Linked DNA regions of Homo sapiens: region 1 is linked to region 2. The links are contacts of gene promoters, found by promoter capture Hi-C in human tissues and cell types (Jung and others, 2019). All regions are on one chromosome and are shown on one strand. Each heading gives the region's core, a stretch centred on a gene start or on the middle of the fragment in contact. The rest is flanking DNA. Distances are from core to core; before and after follow the strand shown. Region 1 overlaps PTPN13 (protein tyrosine phosphatase non-receptor type 13). Region 2 holds the start of SLC10A6 (solute carrier family 10 member 6).

What was found. Contacts are between HindIII fragments. The study calls those that stand out against the background at their distance.
Region 1: a fragment that was not itself captured here is called in contact with the fragment with the promoter of SLC10A6 in region 2 in 1 of the 25 tissues and cell types used here (pancreas).

The regions. Positions count from the first base shown.
Region 1 is chr4:86,786,145-86,790,965 of GRCh38, reverse strand. The region is part of intron 40 of PTPN13 (protein tyrosine phosphatase non-receptor type 13); the gene reads right to left. Among named protein-coding and RNA genes, the nearest start is that of SLC10A6, 61 kb to the left of the region's middle. The HindIII fragment of the contact is 3,788 bases long and covers 342-4,129 here.
Region 2 is chr4:86,846,518-86,851,279 of GRCh38, reverse strand. SLC10A6 (solute carrier family 10 member 6) reads left to right here and starts at 1,896. Exons shown (of 6, transcript NM_197965.3): 1 at 1,896-2,541. The coding sequence starts at 2,165. The HindIII fragment of the contact is 7,017 bases long and covers 1-3,926 here.

The sequences.
Region 1 (4,821 bases), core at 986-3,485, 61 kb after region 2:
ACCTCAGTTGGAAATGCAGAAATCACCTGTCTTCTGCGTCGATTTCGTTGGGAGTGGCAGACTGGAGCTGTTCCTATTCGGTCATTTTGGAAGTGACCACCCCCAAATTGTATTCTTAAATGGTCGGTAAATTATACAATTGAATCTTTATCAGGACAAATTTTCTTAACAAATAGGAAATTCCCTTGAAGGCCCTGAATTATCTGGCCCCTGTCTACTTTTATAATCTCCCCTTTACCCAGTGGCTTCAAATTCATGGGTCTTTCAGTTCTTCAAAATCACTCATCTCTTCCTACCACAAAGCCCTTCTAAGGGTGAATCCTTACTAAAAAATTCAGCATTGTGTCTTCTCCTCCTGAAGATGTTTTCTATCCACCCAATCTAAAGCAGGTTTCCTTGGTTATTCTTTTTGTGTGTGTGTGTGTGTGGCACTTAAAAACAACAAACAAACTTCACAGACCTTAACACAACTTGTAATTACATATCTATTTGTGTGTTTGATTTTTTCTCCTTTCCTCTCCATCATTAAGCTCTACCAAGGCAGGAATCATGTCGATCTGTTCACCACTGTGTGCCCACACACACTTATGTCTGTGACATAGGTTATTTCATCCATTTAATAAAAATGACACCTGTAATATGACCTTTCAGTTACAGACTTTGTAGAGTTAAAAAGTACCATAATTAAATTACCCTGATAATAATTTCAATTTAGTTGATGTAAATGTAGAAGTTCTACAGTAGAAGAAAAAAGGTTTTAATCCACTGTCAACTAAAAGGAAACTCATCTCTTTCGAGAAGCTGCTCATTTTAGTCTGGATTAAAATTTTTTTCCAACTAAAGTCATTTGGATTTCTTATTCCCCATTACAATCCTGGTCTAAGAATATAGTATGTGTATAATGATTTTAGAAAGTACAAAGCCTTTTATAAGAGTTAAGTGCTATTATAAATATGAAAATTTTAATAACACAATTATTAAATGAAAATGGTGAGGTAAAGCTCAATTAGAAATAAGTTACAGTGGGGCAACCTGCTTGGGTCCCCTTCCACACTGTGTGTGGAAGCTTTGTTCTTTTGCCCTTCACAATAAATCTTGCTGTTACTCAAAAAAAAAAAAAAAAGCTACAGTGATACCTGTATTAACCAATTACCACTATTTTTGTAAAGTTCACTTGTGTATGGGGGAGGGTTGCGTTAAGAAGATTGGCCTTCAGTTTCTTGTCACTATGGACTGAAGGACCTTTGGAAGAGGAGGCAGCTGTGGTACTGCCTCACTGAATATATTTAAGATTTTTTTTTATCGTGGTCAGCCCCTTTGAAGGTTATTTTACAATCCTAGTGCTCAAGGAATCCAGATCCAGTAACTTGAGAGTAGAGGAGACATCTCCTTGATCTAGGACGAACTACCTAATTTGTAGTGCCAAGAGTCACATGCAAATAAGGTATCTCTTGTTAAAAACTTACTAAGAACTTCAAGTTGGTGATAGCACAGCACTATAGCATATTAGGAGTAGGAGGCTCTTACAAGCACAGGGTTCTGTGTGATTGCACTGGTTGAATGCCCATAAAGCCAGTCCTAAGATCCAACCAGTCAAGCAGGATTATCCTCAGGTGATGGAGAGTCACTAAAAGTTTTTGCCTTGTTTTTGCTTAAGAAATTAAAAACACTACATAAGAAGACAATGTTTGAAGAAATTAAAGCCATTAAAAAATAACCAGAATTAGAAAGCATATTGATCCATTTCAGTGGCAAGAGATGTGGAAAGATCAAATTCCTTGGCATGGCATGTAAGTCACTTCATGAACTAATACCTTGCCTATCTTTTTAGGTTTAGCTTTCAAGACACCCTGTGATACCCTACTCGCAATGACTTAGTGTCCTGAATGTTCCAGGCTCATCTATGCCTTCATTCCTCTGCTAAAGCAGCTCCACGGTATGTATGGAATGCTCTTTCCTAGCTTAACTATCAAATACCTTTAAGATGCTAATTCTTTAGAAAGCTTTAATAACTTTATCCACCTACTCCTGTGTAGCCCCTACCATTTCCCCCCTTCTTTGTAGGTCCCACTGAACTCCATATAAACATTTAACAGAATATGTTTCTATAGCTTTTTAAAAATTATTTACTTATTTACATGTGTACTTCCCTCAAGCTGACTACTAGACTGGACAAGCAAATTTAGGACAGAAACCCTAACACCTCTTCTTACCCTATTATCCCCAGCAAAATTAGTCAGATGAGTTCAATAGCTGAATGGTTTTGAAACTGTAGACAATAATTTATAGTAATGTATACGATTAGCATTCATTCTTTCATTCTTAAATGAGACACAGGCATTGACCTGAAGTACTTCACTAAGAGGTACCAAAGAGTACAATTACAATACTGAATAAGAAATACAATGAATGTATAAATAGCTATCAGAGGTATAATCTTTCTTCTGTAAGAAGATATTCCTATACTTTTGTAATACCAATGGTTAGCATCTTAACTTTTGCCACATGATAAAACTTTCAAAGTTACAGAATATACTGTTAGAACCAATTCAGTAAATAATATACAATTTGTTTAGGGTGATTTCAAGAACTTACAAAAGATTATTGTCAGAAGTTCTAAATAATTTTTAAAACTAGCCAGTTCTAAAATGTAGGTAATATTCTAGAAATACAAGATGAAACAGAAAACTTTTCCAGAATACCAGCTTGGTCTTCTTTTCAGCTAGGGGAGATTAGTCATATTTGCAAATTTTAAATTTGTCTGCTTATGAATATAATTGCCATAGTGATTTAAACGTGTTCCTAGAATTAGATACAAATAAAATTTTTAAATGTTTTAATCTAAGATCCCTGTTACTCCTTTCCTAAATTTGTTCCCTCATTTTCTTTGCTTTGTTTACCATTATTTAAAACAGATTCTAAAGCAAAAGTCCCATTTATTCAGGAAGCACTAATTTATCTAGCCCAAAATGTATTCTCAATGCATGTATTTGCAGGATCTATCTGTACTCCAGTGGCAAGACAATTATATAGTTCCTAATAATTTGTTTCCTCTTATTGATAAGAAATCTAAAATTCATTAACAGATGGCCAATTTAATAAATTATGGTATAACCTTACAATAAAATGATAGGAAGGCTTTAAAAAGTATGAGGCAAATTTATACGTCTCACATGGAAAGAGGGTAATGATTGTTAAGTGAAAACCAAATTCAGAACCATGTGATAAAACGTATATTAAAAAATTATGTATGTATACAAATATTTATGTTTTGATATGCACAGTGGAAAGGTAGAAATCAAAATTTTTAACAATAGCTACCTCAGATGAATAAGATAAATATGTTTTTAAAAAGGGACTTTTTTTTTTTTTTGAGACAGAATCTCGCTCTTGTTGCCCAGGCTGGAGGGCAATGGCGTGATTTCGGCTCACCGCAACCTCCGTCTGCCAGGTTCAAAGGATTCTCCTGCCTCAGCCTCCCGAGTAGCTGGGATTACAGGCATGTACCACCTTGCCCGGCTAATTTTGTATTTTTAGTAGAGACGGGGTTTCTCCATGTTGGCCAGGCTGGTCTTGAACTCCCAACCTCAGGTGATCCGCCTACCTTGGCCTCCCAGAGTGCTGGGATTACAGGCGTGAGCCACCATGCCCGGCTAGGACTTAACAGTTTTGAAGATTCTGTTGGAAACTTTTTTACAATAAGGATGTAATATTTTCATAATGAAAATAATAAAAAAAAGATAACTTGAAAGAAGTTTTCTGCCATAAAACAGTCATAGCTCAGTATAAATGAGAATCTATATTAACAAGCTTTCCTTACTTTTTTAAAAGAAAAAGCATGTGACATGACTTTTTTTTTTTTGAGACTGAGTCTCGCTCCATTGCCCAGGCTGGAGTGCAACGGCATGATCTCCGCTCAATGCAACCTCTGTCTCCTGGGTCAAGTGATTCTCCTGCCTCAGCCTCCCGAGGGGCTGGGAATACAGGTGTGCGCCACCACATCTGGCTAATTTTTTATATTTTTGGCAGAGACAGGGTTTCACCATGTTGGCCAGGCTGGTCTTGAACTCCTGACCTCAAGTGATCTGCCCTCCTCGGCCTTCCAAAAGTGCTGGGATTACCGCCATGAGCCAACGCGCCCGGCCTACATCACATTTCTGAAATGGCAATTAAAGATTTTTATTTTCTTAGTTAAAAGACATTACAACATACATTTTAAGGGGCATTTTAATATTACTATTAAATATTAATAAAAATGTGATAAAGTCATGACTTAAAATGTTCAGAAAATCTTCTCTAAAGAGCCTATTTTTACTGTAATTATTAATATTCTGATTATATGAAAGAGCATCTTAAGAAAAACCACTAGCGAATGCCACATTTTGAGATATCTAATATTTGTATGATTATTCTTGTAGCTTGAGAAATACATACTTATCAGCCGTAAGCTTCCTTGTATATATACACATTATTTGTAAATATTTAATGAACAGTCATGTATGGATGAGATTGTGTGTAAGTATAAGCATGCATGATAACTAGTGTAAGAACATTCAAACCAGCACAGTTTTAATAATTTTGAAGATATGAAGTAGGAAGACTAAGAAGGATAATGAGGAGAATTATCCCAGAATATTAAGCAAGGTCAGATTTGTATACATAGGGTGATGCTGAGCTTGAAGAACCTGAAATATAATTTATCTACTATTTCATGCTTTTCCTTAGCCTAATATCCCAGAAGATCCTAAGTTTTAAGGTTTTAAAGAATAATTTATAAAGTTTAGCATTACATTTTTGAAAACTAATTGTTTTTTTTTCTAT
Region 2 (4,762 bases), core at 647-3,146:
CGAGACCATCCTGGCTAACACTGAAACCCCGTCTCTACTAAAAATACAAAAAATTAGCCAGGCATGGTGGTGGTCGCCTGTAGTCCCAGCTACTCAGAAGGCTGAGGCAGGAGAATGGCATGAACCCGGGAGGCAGAGCTTGCAGTCAGCCGAGATCGCGCCACTCCACTGCACTCCAGCCTGGGCGACAGTAGGAGACTCCATCTCAAAAAAAAAAAAAAAAAAAAAAAGAAGGTTGACTAAGGGGCTTTTGGACATTATCTAGGCAGACACCCCTGACCCCTTCTCTTGCTAAATAAGTAAATAAAGTTCTGCTTCACCAGACATAGCCACATATGTGTAAAGCACCTAGCCACCTGTATTGGTCTGTTTTTACGCTGCTAATAAAGACATACCCAAGACTGGGTAATTTATAAAGGAAAAAGGTTTAATTGACTCACAGTTCCACATGGCTGGGGAGGCCTCACAATCATGGCAGAGGGGGAAGGGGAAGCAAGACACGTTTTACATGGTGGCAGAAAAGGCAAGAGCGTGTGTAGGGGAACTCCCCTTTATCAAACCATCAGAACTTGAGAGACTTATTCACTATCATGAGAACAGCACGGGAGAAACCCGCCCCCATGATTCAATGACCTTCCACCAGGTTCTTCCCATGACACATGGGAATTATAAGAGCTATAATTCAAGATGAGATTTGGGTGCGGGGGAAACACAGCCAAACCATATCACCACCTCTGTCACCCCTGAGAAGTGCTCAGAAAATGTTAGCTGTCTCCCTCCTCCCTTCCTCCTCAGCCTGACCACACCTCTGCATCATTCAAGCTGGGAACACCTTGCCTTCCAGAGACCTTTCCCGTTCCTCAGTGTCCATTCTCTGCAGGGCTCTGCGTAAATACGCCCTGTGCTGACTGACCCCTTATACGCAACCTCCAGGGAGGCTGGATGGCCAGAGCTGCCTTCAGGGTTTGTTTGCCAAAGGCAGTTTATTCTTTCTTCAAATAGTTAGAATTTACTTCACATTTGAATCTAACTTGTATTTTTATACAGTCAGCATGTCCTGAGCATTCTGTCATGGAGAAGAATTTGCTCATCCATGAATAAACAATGCATAGCTAGTATCCCTCTTGAGACAGGTAGAGGCGTTTATGAAGTGTGCCTTGTTACTAGCCTGTGCCCCACAAATAAACTTTCTGCTGTGAGAAGGGGTGTGGCACCTGCTTTTTCAGAGGTTTAGTTTCACAGAACCATACAGTCCTTGGGTTTTGCCAGCAGTGCCTGCTTAGAATGCACAGAGGGGCCCTGGGCACTGTGGTCAGAGGCTGTCCTCAGACCCCATCTCCATTTCAGACCAAGCTCTTTACCACATCCCCTTGCAGGATTCCCAGATGTCCCTAGGAGGCCAGGGGTATGTATCTCAAAGTAGACTCTTATCTCCAAAAGCAAGTGAGAGCTCCCTTGAATTATTTTGGGTGAAGGAATTAGTTTTCACATGTTTCATGAGACATAATTAGGTGCCTAATACCATATTATTCTCACAGGTGTTTAATTATTGACTTTAGACACAAATTCTAATAGAACTAGAAGAAAAACTGAGACAAATTCTGAAGCTCCTTGAAATTATTCTTAGTCCCTCCTGACATTTCCTCCACCGGCGTTTTTTTTCTTTTTGCTCTATTTCCAGCAGACACGCTTTGCTAATGCTACAAGGTGTGGCTTTGGCTTTGTTGTTTTTTCCGGAGTTAGCTTTTCTGTCTGTGCATCCTGGCTCTTTGAAATCCCAACTGAATTTGGAGAAATTATTTCTTGGCATCCACCCTACTTTCCAGGGACACAATGTGATGCTGACGACATAGCCCGGTCACTCCACTTGACAACAAGTTTGTTTGTCTCATCTCACATACATATTCAGTGGTGAGTAAGAACAGAAGTGGAAAGCCTTACTTACCACAGTTTATTATATGTTTCATGCCTGTGATAATTACTTTTATAATGCCACTTGTGAAAAAATTGATCAGATTAGGATGAATCACCTTGCTGGCCAACAGTTATTGGAATGATTCTCCATGTGTGACTTCGTTGCACTATTACAAAATGTGGCAGGATAGACCTGCCCAGCCATTGTTGCCGATGTTCATTTGTAATGCTGCCTTAAGGAGATGAGGAGATGAGAGCCAATTGTTCCAGCAGCTCAGCCTGCCCTGCCAACAGTTCAGAGGAGGAGCTGCCAGTGGGACTGGAGGTGCATGGAAACCTGGAGCTCGTTTTCACAGTGGTGTCCACTGTGATGATGGGGCTGCTCATGTTCTCTTTGGGATGTTCCGTGGAGATCCGGAAGCTGTGGTCGCACATCAGGAGACCCTGGGGCATTGCTGTGGGACTGCTCTGCCAGTTTGGGCTCATGCCTTTTACAGCTTATCTCCTGGCCATTAGCTTTTCTCTGAAGCCAGTCCAAGCTATTGCTGTTCTCATCATGGGCTGCTGCCCGGGGGGCACCATCTCTAACATTTTCACCTTCTGGGTTGATGGAGATATGGATCTCAGGTAAGTAACCCCAGGGAAGCTCAGCAGTCTGTCTCTTATCCTGCCTAGGGGGAATAACTGAAACTCTTGTGTTAAACACTCTTCTAATCTTTTGGTAGAGATTCTAGTGGGAAATGTTACAAATATCACAGAGACTTGTTCAGCCATGGGTGGGCTTTCCTTTCAGTGCTCAAAAGTTACTTTGCTGATGATCATTTTCTTTATTGGCTACTGTTCTGAGCAGTGGGATGCGTTCTGAGCAGTGGAGGCAGGTCTGCACCTCACCCAGTGGCCCTTCCTAAGCTTGAGCTCATTCTTACCTACACTGGCCTCTTTAGCAACTCCTAGGACTTAAACCAAGAATCCCAAGAAGCTAACGATTGTGGTTTGGTAGCAGCCGTCGTGGTTGTGTCAGTGGCATAGTCAGAATGAGACTCCCGTAGCTCCAGTCAGTGATGCCTGAGCACCTACTTTAGGAAAGAAGCACTTTAGAGGACTGGATAAAGGAGCTTTAGGGGTGTCTGGTGGCCATATCCAGCTTTAAGTGCTGAGATGGCTTGTCGATTTGACTTCAGGAGCAATGCGAAGGCTCTCAGGACTAAAATTGTTCTTTCTTGTTGCTTTGCAGATCGTTAACATCATCACTAGATTCGCATTCCTTCCCTTTAAGCCAGTGACCTTATTCCCAATTATGGTGTAGATAAATACCTCTGGGAGACATTAAGCCTTGTCCCTTATTTACACTTTAATGAGGATGAATTAGTCACATGCTTTTCTGGATTACATGTTTTGATGGGGGAAAAAAAGAGCATTTGAGGAAAGAGTAGAGGGATAGCACTGGAAAAAGAGCTAAAAACAATGGTCTCTCGAGACTCTTTGCTTACTTGTGAACATGCCGTTTCACTTCCTGCCCTGGGGAAGAACTGCTTATAAATTTAAGTATTTGTTTCATGTGTATGTCATTTAGTTGAGATTCACTTTACCATGAATGAATGAATCAGAGGTAATGACTGAGCTGGGAGTTGACATCAGTGAGAGTCAGCTGCAGGTATGTGTTTCCAGTTTTCCGCTTGTGCTGAATGTTTAGCGTATGGAACATATTTCACCTATAAATTTTAATGGGCTCATACCATGCAGAATAGGAACTAACTTTCCCAAGGCAGTGTTTTTGTTTACCCACTTATGAGAGATTTGAAAAAAAAATAACTTGATGAATTTTGTGTTTTACCTTAATGGTAAAAGCCACTCATATACAAAGCCACTAATATACACTGCTTTTGTGTTTTACCTTAATGGTAAAAGCCATTAATATACATTGCTAATTCAAATTCAGTAAAGTTGATTATTTAACTGGGAAATGATAGATATTCTTTGCATGAAGTTCATAAATCAGAGATAAATTCCAGGACCTAAAAGTTTTTGGAAAGAAAAAGGAAACTAATATTTATTAAGTGCCCCATAGGCATGGGATAGATGCTTTCATGCTTATTTTCTTCTTGGGGCTCATAATAACCTTGTAAATGGCCTTTTATTGTTCTGAATTTTACAGCTGAGAAAATTGTGATTCAGATTGGTTAAGTAGCTTGCCAAATGCTACAAACCAGTATGGCAGAACTCAGATTTGAATTCTCATCTGTTTTACATCAGTCTGCAGTTTAGGCACATTTCCCCCATGGCATTTAGCAACACAACTAGATCTTCTGTTTTGAATAGCAGCATAAATCTTCAGTGTTCTCAAACACTTGTGTTCTGGGAAAGAGAACATTTATTACCTTAATCTCTTATTAGTCAATGTTGTCATAAAAACACCAATGAACAGGAAACCTATGAAAGATAAAGCTACTTTTACTTTCTTTTGCCAACTCTTATCTTTAATTCACCTTTAACTTTGTTCAAATTATTTAACCTATCTAAGCCTTATCTCATCATTGGCAAAATGGGGTTAAATTTACCTATTTCTCACAAGACTGTATATATATGTATATATATGTACACACACTCAAACACACACACACATATATAGATAATAGTTTGGGGTGGAGTTTCACTCTTGTCGCCCAGGCTGGAGTGCAATGGTGCGATCTCGGCTCGCTGCAACCTCCACCTCCTGGGTTCAAGTGATTCTCCTGCCTCAGCCTCCTGAGTAGCTGGGAATACAGGTACCCGTACCCACCACCGTGCCTGGCTAATTTTTGTATTTTTAGTAGAGATGGGGTTTCGCCATGTTGGCCAGGCTGTTCTC